Regions from separate parts of the Homo sapiens genome. Here all the other regions are linked to region 1. The links are contacts of gene promoters, found by promoter capture Hi-C in blood cells and fetal thymus (Javierre and others, 2016). All regions are on one chromosome and are shown on one strand. Each heading gives the region's core, a stretch centred on a gene start or on the middle of the fragment in contact. The rest is flanking DNA. Distances are from core to core; before and after follow the strand shown. Region 1 holds the start of EOMES (eomesodermin). Region 2 has its middle 45 kb from the start of LINC01967. Region 3 holds the start of NEK10 (NIMA related kinase 10).

What was found. The method cuts DNA at HindIII sites, captures the fragments that hold promoters and counts their contacts. A CHiCAGO score of 5 or more calls a contact.
Region 2: a fragment that was not itself captured here is called in contact with the fragment with the promoter of EOMES in region 1 in 6 of 17 cell types (total CD8 T cells, total CD4 T cells, non-activated CD4 T cells and 3 more); the score reaches 10.8 in total CD8 T cells.
Region 3: a fragment that was not itself captured here is called in contact with the fragment with the promoter of EOMES in region 1 in 6 of 17 cell types (naive CD8 T cells, total CD8 T cells, non-activated CD4 T cells and 3 more); the score reaches 9.0 in naive CD8 T cells.

The regions. Positions count from the first base shown.
Region 1 is chr3:27,720,207-27,723,720 of GRCh38, reverse strand. It overlaps EOMES (eomesodermin), which reads left to right and starts at 1,398. Exons shown (of 6, transcript NM_001278182.2): 1 at 1,398-2,307; 2 at 3,396-3,514. The coding sequence starts at 1,427. RefSeq lists a silencer at 1,763-1,972. The HindIII fragment of the contact is 2,734 bases long and covers 417-3,150 here.
Region 2 is chr3:27,981,854-27,985,192 of GRCh38, reverse strand. No RefSeq gene overlaps it. Among named protein-coding and RNA genes, the nearest start is that of LINC01967, 45 kb to the left of the region's middle. The HindIII fragment of the contact is 1,009 bases long and covers 768-1,776 here.
Region 3 is chr3:27,368,079-27,371,318 of GRCh38, reverse strand. NEK10 (NIMA related kinase 10) reads left to right here and starts at 1,936. Exons shown (of 36, transcript NM_001394966.1): 1 at 1,936-2,094. RefSeq lists an enhancer at 2,178-2,678. The HindIII fragment of the contact is 868 bases long and covers 861-1,728 here.

The DNA of each region.
Region 1 (3,514 bases), core at 149-2,648:
TGAGGAAACGCAGCGAAGAAACAAGCAGCTGGAGTTTAATTCAATATCAAACTGATTATTTCACTAATTATTCTACCTTCTGTATTTGCCGCAGAGCAGAGGCGCAGGGAATCCTAACTGTGGGGCTGTTAGGGAAGCTTTGTTTCTTGGTGTCAGGCCTAACTGAAGATGGTGGTGAAGGGACGGAATCCGGGATCAGGAAAACTGAGCAGAAAGGATTTTAAATTGTGGGGAATAAAAGTGACTGTCTCCCCGAAAGCAGTTGTGTTGGCGTGAGTATGAAGTTGGTGTTAGCTCGCTTAGTTTCACTCTTGTCCTGTCCCCAGTACCCTGTCCAAGCTTCTGATTTAGAAGCTGAGAGCTTAGGTCCTCCAGGATGGCAATGTGCTCTGGCCGTCCCCGGAATCCCAAAAGCTTAGCGCGAGTTTCCTCTCTACAAACCTTTCCCACTGGGTAAAAGGATGGGAACAAACAAAAAGTGGTTCTGTGCGTTGAAGGCCAGGGAGTTTGCCTTCGACAAGAGGAAGGTGTGCTTTGAAGTTACAGCTTCCGACGAGGAAAGAGACTTCCTTGGGCCTGTCTCCAACTTGCCCCAGTTTCCCCAGCCTCCGGGACGGGCGCTTCCCTGCAAGCTATCAGCTTGAAGAGTCTTTCTCTCTCTGGCCTCTAAAATCTGCTCCAGCCATCTCATTCCTCCAGCGGAGGGCTGAGATGACTAATGCGCCAAGGGTGGACACCGCTATGGAGACCCCAAACTTTGTCCCCCTAAATTCCGGCGAAATTACAGACACCAGGATTGATTATCACAGCGGGACGCAGTCTCAAAAAAAAAAAAAAAAAAAAAAAAAAAAAAAGGAAAAGAAAGTCACAGGCGACTTGATCCAATTAGTAAATGCCTAATTGAATTAGTGTCACCTCCACCAGCCAATAGGAGGGTCTCCGGGCTGTGAGGCCGGGAAGCCCCTCCCTGGCCGCAAATATATAAAGCAGCTAGTGACAGCCCATAAGTTTCCAAGTGGTCAACTTGACCGATGCTTTGGCAATTGAAAAAGGGCAGAAAGGCGCGGGCTAGTGGGTGGATGGGGACAAAGATCTAAGTCACCTTCTTCCAGCGTGTGAGCCTGGGAGGAGGGTGGGGGTCCTGAGGAGCAAGAGGTACGAGGAAGGAAAAGGAGAGGGCTTCTGGGTTAGTTTCCACCTCCTGCTTTCCAACTCACGGCGCTTTCCTTCCGGAAAGGACGCTGGATTCAGGGCGCGCCAGTACGCGCAGTAGCGGCCCGCGAGTCGGCAGGTGGGTAGCCCCGGCGCGGGAGGAAGGGGAAGTTACCTTCCCCTCGGAAGAGGGCGCTGGCTCCCCCATCCTGCCTTTATAATAAGGCCACCGGAGGAGAGGAAGCAGCCAGCTGCCGTCTGCGCTTTGCAAAGCATGCAGTTAGGGGAGCAGCTCTTGGTGAGCTCAGTGAACCTGCCTGGCGCGCACTTCTACCCGCTGGAGAGTGCGCGAGGCGGCAGCGGCGGGAGCGCTGGCCACCTCCCCAGCGCGGCCCCCTCTCCTCAGAAGTTGGACTTAGACAAAGCGTCCAAGAAGTTTTCCGGCAGTCTCTCCTGCGAGGCGGTGAGCGGGGAGCCCGCAGCCGCCAGCGCAGGGGCCCCCGCGGCCATGCTTAGTGACACCGACGCCGGGGACGCATTTGCCAGCGCTGCGGCAGTGGCCAAGCCGGGGCCCCCGGACGGCCGCAAGGGCTCCCCCTGCGGGGAGGAGGAGCTGCCCTCCGCCGCTGCAGCCGCCGCCGCCGCCGCCGCCGCGGCTGCGGCCACTGCGCGCTACTCCATGGACAGCCTGAGCTCCGAGCGGTACTACCTCCAGTCCCCCGGTCCTCAGGGGTCGGAGCTGGCTGCGCCCTGCTCACTCTTCCCGTACCAGGCGGCGGCTGGGGCGCCCCACGGACCTGTGTACCCGGCTCCTAACGGGGCGCGCTACCCCTACGGCTCCATGCTGCCCCCCGGCGGCTTCCCCGCGGCTGTGTGCCCACCCGGGAGGGCGCAGTTCGGCCCAGGAGCCGGTGCGGGCAGTGGCGCGGGCGGTAGCAGCGGCGGGGGCGGCGGCCCGGGCACCTATCAGTACAGCCAGGGGGCTCCGCTCTACGGGCCGTACCCTGGAGCCGCAGCGGCGGGATCTTGCGGAGGACTGGGGGGCCTGGGGGTTCCAGGTTCTGGCTTCCGTGCCCACGTCTACCTGTGCAACCGGCCTCTGTGGCTCAAATTCCACCGCCACCAAACTGAGATGATCATTACGAAACAGGGCAGGTGAGCGCAGCGTGGAGGGGCCCCTGGGTTCGGGGATAAAGGGTGACGTGTGGTCCTGGGGAAGGTCCGGGATGAGGGAGCTGAACCCAGTTGTTCCGCGCGGTGCTTAGAGTGTTTCACCGCGCGCAATAAATCTCCGTAGACACCGCATCTCCAATGCGGTGTCCCTCTGTGTCAGTGCCCCGGCGGCTCTTGCAGGGTGCCAATGTTACGGCTGTACACCGCTTTTCCCTCCCATCATCCTCACCTGAACAGACCTGGAGGAGGCGGAAATGGAAATTAGGGCATGTCCACAAGCTGGATTCGTTAGATCCTCCTGCTCGGCGGTATGCTTGTGCATGCCTGCATGCCGGCAAGGAGCCACGGATAGGGAAGGCTCAAGAGCTGGCCACCTGAGCGCAGTAGATGGGCTCCCGCAGTTTTAGGCGCCAGGGTCTCCACGGGGCGTCTCCGGGAGGTGGGCATGAAGGCTAGAGCGCCGGCCTCGGAAGCTCGGTCGGAGTAGGTGGTTAGATCTGCCCTGGAGCCAGACCTGGCTCGGGTTCGGTGCGCGAGAAAGTTCTGATATACATCCAACTGCTAACACTGGCTACTTCTGGGGAAAGGGAGGGGTGGGTGCTGAGAGAGGGGCACTCAAAGGGGACTTTTAGCCTAAAGTTTTAATATATATTTTTAACAAGAATAACCTAATATTGTTCTCTGGTACTTTTCAAAATGGTGCATTTAAAAATTAGTAGTTTTTAACATTCTAGGAGAAAAATTTTAAGAGCGTCTGAAAGGGCCGAGAATATGAGCCTTCGGAAGCACGCGCGAATTTGGAATATACCGATGTTGGGGCAAGCTTTTTTTTTTTTTTTTTTTTTTTTTTTTTTTTTTTTTTTTGAAAAGACGGAAAGGTTCCAAGAGTTGCCAACTCAAAAATATTTTACATAGTTTCAGACCACTTGATCTACCAGCATTCTGTTCACTGCAAACTTTTAAATGTGTTCCGACCCTATCCCAGGTGTCTGGGGAACCCGCTGGGGCCTGGGCCTGTTCTAGGACATCCCAATTAAAATCGATTTTTCTGATTCTATTCCCTTGCACAGGCGCATGTTTCCTTTCTTGAGCTTCAACATAAACGGACTCAATCCCACTGCCCACTACAATGTGTTCGTAGAGGTGGTGCTGGCGGACCCCAACCACTGGCGCTTCCAGGGGGGCAAAT
Region 2 (3,339 bases), core at 23-2,522, 260 kb before region 1:
TTGGGGAAAAAATATCAACTAGGACTATTTCTATGTGATTCTAGAATATTTTGCTTATAACAGAGAAAGTGGGTAGCTTGGTCTATTTCAAGACTTGGACCTTGCTAGGAGAGAATATCTACTTTTTAAACATGTTATAACCACTGTTATTATGTGGCCTAGGAGAAAGAAATGACTGATACAATACGTATGGCTTTTTCTGACTTTATTTAAATACAATAAATGTTAACTTTTAATATATTTTCTTTGTTCCTACTGCTTTCACTTTTTTCTTTCAATATGCCCTGTTATCAAGGATAAAATGGAGCTGCAAAGATGAAGAGTTAGAATGTGATGGAGAGGTATGGTCCAATGTGTAGGAAGGTAGAATGTCACAACAGCAATGATAAAACTTAGTCTGCATTTTGAATTCATTCATTCATTCATTCATTCATTCTACACTGGACCATGTTGCAACGAAATAAACAAGACAGCCAGAAAGTCCTGGTCTTCCAGGAAGCTGACATTTGTAATCAATGTACTACATAGATGTGGCAGGCAATCACTAAGATAAATGATTTTTCCAAAAGCAAAGTTTGAGCATAGCTTATAAAAACTGAAAATATAAATTAAAACATAACAGAAATTTTAATTTTCTCCTTAGATTTGAAAGCTGGTACTTCTCCAACAAGCTAGAGCTGAGAGTCTCTAACAGGGGAAAATCAAAATATTTATTCCAAGTAGGATTAAGGGAATCTGTATATTGGCTGTGAAATCAAAGAAAAGCTTTTACTTAGTAAGTTTGAAATTACTTGTAATTTTTCCTATGATTAACTATCACAAACACCCAACAAATTCTGCTCAGAGCCCAAGTTATATCTAAAATAGTGTGTGTCCCAGTAGTTATAGACCTGACCTTTTTTCTTAAAAAAAAAAAAAAAAAATGTTCTCTACCCTTGCTCTTTTCTAGGGTTACAATGTTAGTTTAAATCAGATGTTAGTTGTCATGCATTTTGGAGAGCCATCCATTCATTGATGTAATCATCATAAGTGTATCTATCCATCCATTCATCCATCCATCCATCTGTCCATCCATTCATCCATCTATCCATCTGATGCCTTGGCAAGTGTCTGGCCTATTTTAGGCCTTCAGCAAATATTTGTTGAATGAATAAATAAATCACCCAACCTTGACTGTCTACCATGTGCAACTAATAATCCGCAGGTATAGTAGCCCAGTTATACCATTGGCTTATCACATATTCACTTGCTGTTTTCCAGGAGGATTTTGTGTTGATTATTATGATGGTGACAGGGGAAGTGTGAATATAATTTTTGTAACAAATAGCTTTCTGAACACAAAAATTTCCCAATAATATGTAACTTTTAGATATACATAGGATGAATTGTTAAGAAAACTAAGCATCAGATTATCAGGTTAGCAGTTAGAAAACTCTTGCAGGCAGTATAAAGTGTGATATTCCTGTGACTTGGAAACTTAGTGTTTGCCACTTTCTCTGAAGGGAGAATACGGTGAATCAGATTCACTTGAAAAACCCCCAGAAACTTGCTGGAATCTACCTTAATGTCTCCTTAGGGGAATTAAATCCACAAGGCCAATCAGTTCTCAAAGAATTTTTCAGTCTCCCAAGGGAAGTGGAACAACCTTTGGTGGACAGTGTTAGAGGGAAGAATACTGGAGCTGGTGGATATAGGCATATGCTAAAAATGTAGCAGAACAAATTTATGCTTGATTTGTGTGTCTGACCCCTGCCTCTTGGTCATACTGAATAAGCTTAGCAGACACCAGATGTATCATTTCAATTAACATTTTTTGTGTTTTATGGTTTACCAATGATTTTCTTAGTGTTTTCCAAATTGTTCCTCCAAACTACCTTAACAGCAGAATGGGTATACATAATTCCATAGCATCTAAGGAGTGGCCCTGTATATCCTGGAGCAAACCAGAAATTTGCTCTGAAATGTGTGTTTTAGTATGAAATCATGCGTATTCCTTTCTATTTAAATATACCTCTGTGTTTGCTTTAATGTGAACAATGCTTTAAATTAATTATCATGGAGTAAAATATATCCTCAAAACAGTAACTTTCACATACCACCACCCCCCTTTACTCTTCCCTCTGGGCTGTACATTCAATACTTACACTAACCATATGAAATGAATATCACCATTATCCTCTTCTTCGGAAGAGAAATCAAGGATCATAGAGGTCAAAGTTGATAATTACCTAAATGACAGGCATTATCTCAATTAATAGCTTTATACACGTTTAATTCTAACAACCACTCATCACCACCTTTTTATAAAAGAAGAAAGCACAACGTTTGAGAGGTTAAATAACTTGCCTTTGTTCTCAGAGTTATAAGGAGGAATGAGACTGGATTTGAACCCAGTTTGTCTGACTTCAAAGAACCCACTGTTTTCATTATACCCTCGCTTTTTTCAAATGTTCCAAATGAATTTGACATCCTAAGCAATCTGAGTGAAGTAATAAGAGGGGAAAATTTTTTAAGGGAGGGGCCCTGTTATCCACTAATTCTTTTAAGGGTACCAGAAGGGAATTTTTGAAGTTGTGGATTTACCACCTGGAACCTTTGAAAAACATAATAGGAAGTGACCTAGAGATACATGTTCCTTCTCTGTCAACCTGCTGAGGAGATAAAACATAGCTGCTTCCATTAGTCAGTCTGCAAGGGTCAATATGTATTATGTACTTAGCCAGCTATGGTACACATGCAACCACAGTCTTGCTTTCGATGAACTTATAATGTTGTCATACACTTTGGTGAATACCTCTGAATTAGTCTATTCTTGCATTGCTATAAAGAAATATTTGAGACTGGGTAATTTATAAAGAAAAGAGATTTAATTGGCTCATAGTTCTGTAGGCTGTACAGGAAGTATAGTGGCATCTTCTTCAGGGGAGGCCTCAGGAAGCTTACAATCATGCAGAAGGCATAGGGGGACCAGGCAGCTCACATGGCAAAAGCAGGAGCATCAGTGTGAGGAAGGAGGTGCTACACATTTTTAAATGACCAGATGTTACAAGAACTCACTCACTATCATGAGGACAGTACTAAGCAAGGTGGTACAAAACCATTTATGAGAAATCTGCCCCCAGCATCTAACCACCTCATGTAGCTGATAAAGACATATCCGAGACTGGGAAGAAAAAGAGGTTTAGTTGGACTTAACAGTTCCATGTGGCTGGGGAGGCCTCAGAACCATGGCGGGAGGCAAAATACACTTCTTATGTGGCGGTGGCAAGAGAAAATGAGAAGGATGCAAAAGTGGAAACCCCTGATAAACCCATCAGATCTCGTGAGACTTATTCACTA
Region 3 (3,240 bases), core at 45-2,544, 350 kb after region 1:
CATTTCATTTAAAAAAAGGCCTTAGAAAAATATGTTTTCATAGTTTTGAGCCTTGCTATATAAGCTATAAGCTTGGTGCAAGATCTCTTGTGGGATTTTATTTTGTGTCATTTTACAGAGGGACCCTTAACATTTGAGATGATAGTGTATGTGTCTTTTAGAGGCAGTGTCATTCTTGCCTCTTAATCGCTGCAGCTTTCAGGGAAGTTCAGGAATATTCTGGGATGGCCAAAACATTAGTTTAAGACTTTAATTTTACTGAGTAGTGGAAAGATGGGAAGCACAATTGGTATTCTGGTGAAGATGAGAAGTTCAGTGCAGTCATGTCTCACTGCTTAATGTTTATTTTTTGAGATAGAGTCTTGCTGTGTCTCTCAGGCTGGAGTGCAGTGGCATGATCTTGGCTCACTGCACCTCTGCTTCCTGGGTTCAAGTAATTCTTGTGCCTCAGCCTCCTGAGTAGTAGGGACTAGCATGTGCCACCATGCCCGGCTGATTTTTCTGTTTTTAGTAGAAACAGGGTTTGGCCATGATGGCCAGGCTGGTCTCGAACTCCTAACCTCAAGTGGTCCTCCTGCCTCGGCCTCCCAAAGTGCTAGGATTACAGGTGTGAGCCACCAAGCCAGGCCGACTGCTTAACATTTAGAATGTATGTACAGAATACTTTTTCTACTCAGCATCGGTCTTCCTGCCCCGTCACCTTGTTTTGTTTTATTGGTAACATTAATCCTGATTGTTTTAGATCTCTGAAGTTTAATTAGTTCTGCTATACTCACCAGAGTTTGGCTTTCATCTCGCCTTTCTGCATTTCCAAAATAGGACCGTCTTCATTTTAAAAAATGCTTTCAATTACCCAAGCTTAAGTATTGTTAATCCAATGGGCCTACTTACTATCCACACCAGAAAAACGTTAGGGTTCACTGTATTCATTTAAAATCCAGTTTGGGAAGATGTAACCACCAGACACACACACGAGCGTTTAGTGATACCAAGATGAGGTTGAACAGGGCCCAGTACTCGAAGAAATCGTCGAAGGAGCATCATCGTGGTTAAGACCAGACTCGAAGTAGGTTTTACCCTGACTCCATCACTAGCTCTGCCATACTGGACTACTTAGGAAACTTCTTGTGCCTCCATTTTATAACTAAGTGAAATAAGGAAAGAATTTGAAATCGTGCCCGGCACAAAATTAAGCACTTAATAGATTGGCATTTTTCATTTATTTAAAGTTACAGAATGTCAGGTATATTTTTAAAGCGTTATCTAATGCAGTTCAGAAATTTTAAAGAAGCTCCAGACTTTCACAAAAGGTGAAGTGACTTGCCCAAAGCCACAAAACGAACTGGCGATAGTTATACTATACAGGTTTCTTGAATCCCAGGTCACTCTTTTTGTGAAAAATACGGTGCTGTGGCACCTTATTCTCATTGCCTGTGGCTTGAGTAACTGAAGACGTTTTCATGCCATATGAAAGGTATTTAGCATGCTGCATTGATTCCTTATCAGATTAAATCTTTGCTTTTAAAGAGAATTGATTTTTAGCCCATAGCAATTCTTGAAAGTAAACACTCCAAGATGAAGCTGCCCTTTCCCATCAAAGGTTAGACACCCTAAATCCAGAAAAATCTTCAACGTGTAGGAGACCTGTTCACAGGTAGCTCTAGGTTCCGGTGAAGTGGCTGCAGCACAGCCTTCAGCATCACTTGCTGCCTCTTCTGCTTGCAAGCTTGGTGGTGGATCTAGCGCGTCTCTGGTTGCTACGGCGATTCCCCGGCAGGCGTCATCCGTCGCTATGGCGTTCTGCACTGCGCAGCATGGCTGCTCCCGATTGGCTGAGGCGCCCCAGGTGGCGGAGGAAGAATTGTCGGCATTGGCCTGGCCAGCGCTGGTTGGTGGCCTGGAGGAGGATTTGATTGGAAAACCAACGGTGCAGCTGGCCGCGGTGTCCCTGAGGTTGAGGGGACCGGGAATAGGCTGGGGGGAGGACGGGACGGGCTGAGACTGGACGGGACCCCCGGTCTGCAGCAGCAGGTGACAGCAGCAGGGACAATGATAAGGAGATTGGCCTGAAGGAGGGACCGTCCCTCCCGCGCGGTGAGTAGGCGGGAGCCGGTGCTCGGCTGTGCCGGCGAGCAGCTTGAGTCAGGGTCTCCGGGGAGACGTCCTCAGGTCCCTGTGGAGCGGCCCCGAAGCCTCGGGAGCCAGCTTCACTAGACAAGAGGCAGAGGTAGAGAATGCGGCTGTGGTGGGTAAGTGAGTCACTGCGTGAGGCAGTCTTTTCAAAGCAGGTGGGTTTGTGTTGGACGGATGGATGGTGGGAAAGCGCCATCAACGATGCTTCTTGGCGCTTCCATTTTGATAACGGAATTATTCTGGTTAAATGGAGCCTGAATGTGTCTCTTCCAATCTGCTCCGACGCCTCTGGAGGTTCATTCTTCATCTCTATGAGCGTCGCTTTTCTGCCTTCTCCTTACAGGATGCTGCTTTGACTTTGCCCCTCTGCTTTTCTGCCCTACTTCGGTGAGCCCTTCCACTTCCTCGCCTCAGGCACCATCTATCTGACGATGATTAGAAAGTCTCCAACTGGAACCTAGCCTGCTCTACTAACTGTCAGACCCCAAAATCCAGCTGCCAAGTTAACGCCACACATGTGCAACCCTGAACGCCATCTTCCCCATGTCTGCTGCTGCTCTTGGATTCCCTATTTTGGGCATCACTATCCATTCAGCTTTCAAAAACTACACTCTAGACGACATCCATGACACTTACTGCTGCTTCCTCTGCATCTCTATCAATTATCAAGACTATCCCTTCTTAATAGGTGTTGAATCAATTCCCACATTACCATCTCTATTTTTACTGTCTCAATTTCCACCATCGGTTGGTTAAATTCAACACCCATCTGGCTTCTCCGATTCTAGTCTGGCCCTATCTATCCAATCCACTTTTTTCCCCACCATTGTTGAACTGATATATATATATGTGTATATATATATATATGGAGTCCTTCTAAAAAAGACTCCTTTTTTAGAAGGAGTCTTGCTGTGCTGCCAGGCTGGAGTGCAGTGGAGCGATCTCAGCTCACTGCAGCCTCCGCCTTCCGGGTTCAACCAATTCTCATGCCTCAGCCTCCAGAGAGCTGGGATTACAGGCGCGAGCCACTACGCCTGGCTAATTTTTGTATTTTTAGTAGAGAAGGGGTTTCACCATGTTGGTCAGGCTGGTCTCGAACTCCTGATC